2 separate regions of the Homo sapiens genome follow, and region 2 is linked to region 1. Evidence: promoter capture Hi-C in human tissues and cell types (Jung and others, 2019). All regions are on one chromosome and are shown on one strand. The core of a region is centred on a gene start or on the middle of the fragment in contact, and the rest is flanking DNA. Distances in the headings are between cores, read along the strand shown. Region 1 overlaps RETREG3 (reticulophagy regulator family member 3). Region 2 holds the start of AOC2 (amine oxidase copper containing 2).

Region 1 (2,700 bases), core at 130-2,629:
ACTTTTTTTTTTTTTTTTTTTTTGAGACGGAGTCTTGCTCTTGTTGCCCAGGCTGGAGTGCAGTGGCGCGATCTCGGGTCACCACAACCTCTGCCTCCCAGGTTCAACGGATTCTCCTGCCTCAGCCTCCCAAGGTAGCTGGGATTACAGGCATGCGCCACCATGCCCGGCTGATTTGGCATTTTTAGTAGAGATGGGGTTTCTCCATTGTTGGTCAGGCTGGTCTTGAATTCCCGACCTTAGGTGACCTGCCTGCCTCGGCCTCCCAAAGTGCTGAGAATTATAGGCATGAGCCACTGCGCCCAGCCAAAAGTTTCCAATTTTTTGATGTAATAAAAGCTGAACTATACATCACTGAGCATGTTACTGGGTCAAAGGCATTAACTATTTTAAACAAATAGCTTTATTGGTCGGGCACCGTAGCTCACACCTGTAATCCCAGCCTTTGGGAGGCCGAGGCAGGTGGGTCACTTGAGGTCAAGAGTTCAAGACCACTTTGGCCAACATGGTGAAACTCCATCTCTACTAAAAATACAAAAATCAGCCAAGACATGGTGGTGCACGCCGGTAGTCCCAGCTACTTGGGAGGCTGAGGCAGGAGAACTGCTTGAATCTGGGAGGCAGAGGTTGCAGTGAGCTGAGATCATGCCACTGCACTCCAGTCTGGGCCACAGAGTAAGACTCCGTTTCAAAAAAAAAAAAGTAAGAAAATAGCTTTATTGAGATAATGGTTTGTATACGATAAAATTCTCTTTCAATTCATCTGCCAGCAGCAGAGATGAAAAAAAAATCACAATGCTGTACGACTAATAGCCTTATGTAATTTCAGAACATTTTCATCACTCCAAAAGAAACCCATACCCATTAGTATTCTTTCTCCATTTCCCCCAGCCCTGGAAAAGCTTCTTAAGTGGCTTAAAATATGTTACCAAACTACTTGCTAGAAAGGCTGTCCAATTTATGTTCCTATCAGCCATATGCCCATTTTTCCATATTTTCCCCAGAATTAATTATGATCATTAAAAATACTTAAGGCCAGGTGTGGAGGCTCACACCTGTAATCCCAGCACTTTGGGAGGCCAAGGTGGGTGGACTGCTGGAGCCCAGGAGTTCAAGACCAGCCTGGGCAACATGGTGAAACCTTGTTTCTACGAAAAATACAAAACAATTAACCAGGTGTGGTGACACACACCTGTAGTCCCCACTACCTGAGAGGCTGAGGTGGGAGGATGGCTTGAGCCCAGAGGTTGAGGTTGCAATAAGCCATGATCACACCACTGCTCTCGAGCCTGGGCGACAGTGAGATCCTGTCCCCCGCCAAAAAAAAAACTTAAGATAGAAATTAGTAAATAATTTCCATTTACATATATTTGAATTCTTTTCTTATTTGTGAGAGTGAAATTTTATATATCCATTGATTTTTTTTTCCCCTTTTGTGAACTGTCCCTCCACTCTGTCAGGGACTAAAATCCAATTAAATGATCAGTCTAAATAAAATATCCCTGGAATAGCAATTGGTGTCCAGAAACATCGTGAGAAATTCCAGAACCAAACATAAACTTTTGTGATTAACTATACCATGGAGCCTCACTATTAGTACCAGTAAATTAAAGTTTGCTATAATCATAAATAATGACCACATGTCTATTTTCAAAGACATGATTTCTAGGTTCCTTTGTTATTACAGATTAAGATTGTCTCAAGGGCACTTCAAAACAAAGCATCCCATTCTACAGGGACAGAAAGCCTGTTACTGTACAGCACTTGTGACCGCCTGGTTAATGAGCCCAAGTCACCGGTAAATTCAAAGGAAAAATTAACCCAACCTATATCATGCAGTGACAGTTGTTGCTTGCAAAAAAACCAGAAATGAAATCAGCTAGCTGCTAACAGTGGAGAGAAAGCACTCAACCATACAATTAGGGCAGATAAAAACTAAAGGTAAAGAGAGGGGAAGTAAATAAACCAAGGCATCCTTGGGAGTCTTCTCGGCTCACAAAGACAAGAACCCTGCAAAGACTATCATCAGGAACATTCACTCAACAGATTTCATTAGAAATCTGATGTGTAGCCGGGCGCGGTGGCTCACGCCTGTAATCCCAGCACTTTGGGAGACCGAGGCGGGCGGATCACGAGGTCAGGAGATTGAGACCATCCTGGCTAAAACGGTGAAACCCGGTCTCTACTAAAAATACAAAAAATTAGGTGGGCATGGTGGCGGGCGCCTGTAGTCCCAGCTACTCGGGAGGCTGAGGCAGGAGACTGGCGTGAACCCGGGAGGTGGAGCTTGCAGTGAGCCGAGATCGCGCCACTGTACTCCAGCCTGGGCGACAGAGCGAGACTCCGTCTCAAAAAAAAAAAAAAGAAAAGAAATCAGATGTGTAGATTTTTTTTAACAGAACAAATATCTCTACTTAAATGGGCTCCCCATCTTCCATTTCTTGTTTCTATTATTTTTTACTCAAATCCTAACCTTCTAACTCAGAATTGCTGTATATCCTTAATCACTTTTTTGGGTCATTTTTATTTATTTATTTTTTTGGGGGGGCGGACAAAAATAAAATTTTTACATTTCATTTGTGAAATAACAAATTCTATAATAACCTCCTAGAAATACAGTATGGTTCACTGAGACTAGTGACTGCAAAAAGCAGATCCCAACAGAGATCTCTACTTGGGACTCAGCTTGTGGACTGCTCC
Region 2 (2,700 bases), core at 176-2,675, 240 kb after region 1:
CACCCTATCACCCATGGATCGTAATGTAAAATTCTTTTACCATGTCAAGAAATTATTAAAAATACAGGTACTTTGACCTCTTTCTAAAGCCGCAGACCCTGGTGCAATGCTCTGGTGGCTAGGGATGTACTCATGCTCATATGTGTGCACGCTTGGACACCCACCTCCATGGACACCTAGCCACCCTGTTGTGTGTCCTTATGCCAGTTGAGCTGAATCTTTTCCCCAGTATAGTGGAAAGACTGAGGCTTCTGCCTACTGAGCAAGGTTGGGTGCTTCATTTGTGTTCAGTCTGAATTATGGGAAAGTTAGCTCTTCCCAGACCTAAGCTGCCTTCTCTCCCTACTTTCAGAAGATCCTAGTTCCTTCCTTCCCGAGTGATACCCATGAACTGCCAGTAGAGGCTGCTATCGTTCCATGTGTAAGGAATGAACTGGTTCAAGGCGCGTCCTACCCAGTCATTTTCTTTACCTTATACTAATTCTTCCTGAATAATGTCTTCAGTTTCTTGAGGAGACTCCTAGTTTTGGTTTTCAAATTACTTGGAGGGCTGCCTAGGAATCTATCTCCCTCTGAAATAAAGTTTCCTCATCTTCCACCTTGCAAGTAGCCTTCTGGTTTCCAATGATCCCCTCGTTGTCTCTGTAAAAAGAGTTTAAGGTCTTGAACAATGGAGGAGCAGCTGCTCTGTTCTGTTTCAGAGATGACTACCAAAAGCTAGCGGTTTGTGAGTGCCTCCCCTGTGCCAGGCTGTTAAGTACCTAATGTGCATGATCACATTTAATCTTCAGGAATCTATAGGATAGTTGTATCTATTTGTTACAGATGAGGACACTGAGACTCAGGATAAGTATTTCCGCTAAGGTTACACAGCTGAGGGAACTGGGATTGGTGGACAAACCTGATTACTAAGCCCAGGCCCTCAGCCACTCCACTGGTTGGAAATGGCCTGACTACAAATCAAGGGCTTGGCATTAGGCAACAAGTAGAATTCAGTGCTTACTGCTGAACATGGCAGTGAATCCTGGAGCTGTTGGGATGCAGTTCCTGCCAGGAGGTAGGAAAATGGACAGCTTAGTGCTTGCATGCAGGCTGCAGAACTTAATTGGGCATCTGAGGTTTGTACTCTTCCTGAGACCCATTCCAGGTGGAAACTGGAGGTTAGCATCGTTAACCCAGATTCCCTTTCATCTGGTCTAAATGATGGAAATCAGTAGTTGGTACTGACTGCTACCAGTGGGAGTTCAGGGGCAAGGAAGAGGCTATGCATGTGGAAGCAGTGCCCTGGGCCAAACCACAGGACAGAAAATTGGAACAGAATTACATAAATCAAGGTCAGAAATTTCCTGCCCAACCCATGGGGTGGAGTTTTCTCCCTTCCTATCCATCCTAGCGAATATAAACCCCGACTTGATGTCAGTAACTGGAAGGAGCAGCTGTTAGAATTCTGATTTCAGCTCTCAGCATCCACCATGCATCTCAAGATAGTCCTGGCGTTCCTGGCACTGTCCCTCATTACCATCTTTGCCCTGGCCTATGTTTTGCTGACCAGCCCAGGTGGTTCCAGCCAGCCTCCCCACTGCCCCTCTGTATCCCATAGGGCCCAGCCCTGGCCACACCCTGGCCAGAGCCAGCTGTTTGCAGACCTGAGCCGAGAGGAGTTGACAGCTGTGATGCGCTTTCTGACCCAGCGGCTGGGGCCAGGGCTGGTGGACGCAGCCCAGGCTCAGCCCTCGGACAACTGCATCTTCTCAGTGGAGCTGCAGCTGCCCCCCAAGGCTGCAGCCCTGGCCCACCTGGACAGGGGGAGCCCCCCACCTGCCCGGGAGGCACTGGCCATCGTCCTCTTTGGTGGACAACCCCAACCCAATGTGAGTGAGCTGGTGGTGGGGCCGCTGCCTCACCCCTCGTACATGCGGGATGTGACTGTGGAGCGTCACGGCGGGCCCCTGCCCTATCACCGTCGCCCGGTGCTGAGAGCTGAGTTTACACAGATGTGGAGGCATCTGAAAGAGGTGGAGCTACCCAAGGCACCCATCTTCCTGTCGTCCACCTTCAACTACAATGGCTCTACCCTGGCAGCTGTGCATGCCACCCCTCGGGGCTTGCGCTCAGGGGACCGAGCTACCTGGATGGCCCTCTACCATAACATCTCAGGGGTTGGTCTTTTCCTTCACCCCGTGGGGCTGGAGCTACTACTGGACCACAGGGCCCTGGACCCTGCCCACTGGACTGTCCAGCAGGTCTTCTACCTTGGGCACTACTATGCAGACTTGGGCCAGTTGGAACGGGAGTTTAAGTCTGGCCGGTTGGAAGTGGTTAGAGTCCCTCTACCTCCACCAAATGGAGCTTCATCCCTGAGGTCTCGGAACTCTCCAGGTCCTCTTCCCCCTCTTCAGTTCTCGCCCCAGGGTTCCCAGTACAGTGTGCAAGGAAACCTGGTGGTATCCTCCCTCTGGTCATTTACCTTTGGCCATGGGGTGTTCAGCGGCCTGAGGATTTTTGATGTTCGGTTCCAGGGTGAGCGAATAGCCTATGAAGTCAGTGTCCAGGAGTGTGTATCTATCTATGGTGCCGATTCACCCAAGACGATGCTGACTCGCTATTTGGATAGCAGCTTTGGACTCGGCCGTAACAGCCGAGGCTTGGTGCGGGGAGTGGACTGCCCCTATCAAGCCACGATGGTGGACATCCATATAT

The links. The method cuts DNA at HindIII sites, captures the fragments that hold promoters and counts their contacts. A contact is called where the count stands out against the background at its distance.
Region 2: a contact is called between the fragment with the promoter of AOC2 here and a fragment that was not itself captured in region 1, in 10 of the 25 tissues and cell types used here (H1 embryonic stem cells, IMR-90 fibroblasts, adrenal gland and 7 more).

Annotation. Positions count from the first base shown.
Region 1 is chr17:42,601,627-42,604,326 of GRCh38, forward strand. All of the region lies in intron 1 of RETREG3 (reticulophagy regulator family member 3), which reads right to left. Among named protein-coding and RNA genes, the nearest start is that of RETREG3, 6.4 kb to the right of the region's middle. The HindIII fragment of the contact is 8,726 bases long and covers 1-2,700 here.
Region 2 is chr17:42,843,155-42,845,854 of GRCh38, forward strand. AOC2 (amine oxidase copper containing 2) reads left to right here and starts at 1,426. Exons shown (of 4, transcript NM_009590.4): 1 at 1,426-2,700. The coding sequence starts at 1,473. PSME3 (proteasome activator subunit 3) reads left to right here. Exons shown (of 11, transcript NM_005789.4): 11 at 1-606. The HindIII fragment of the contact is 18,620 bases long and covers 1-2,700 here.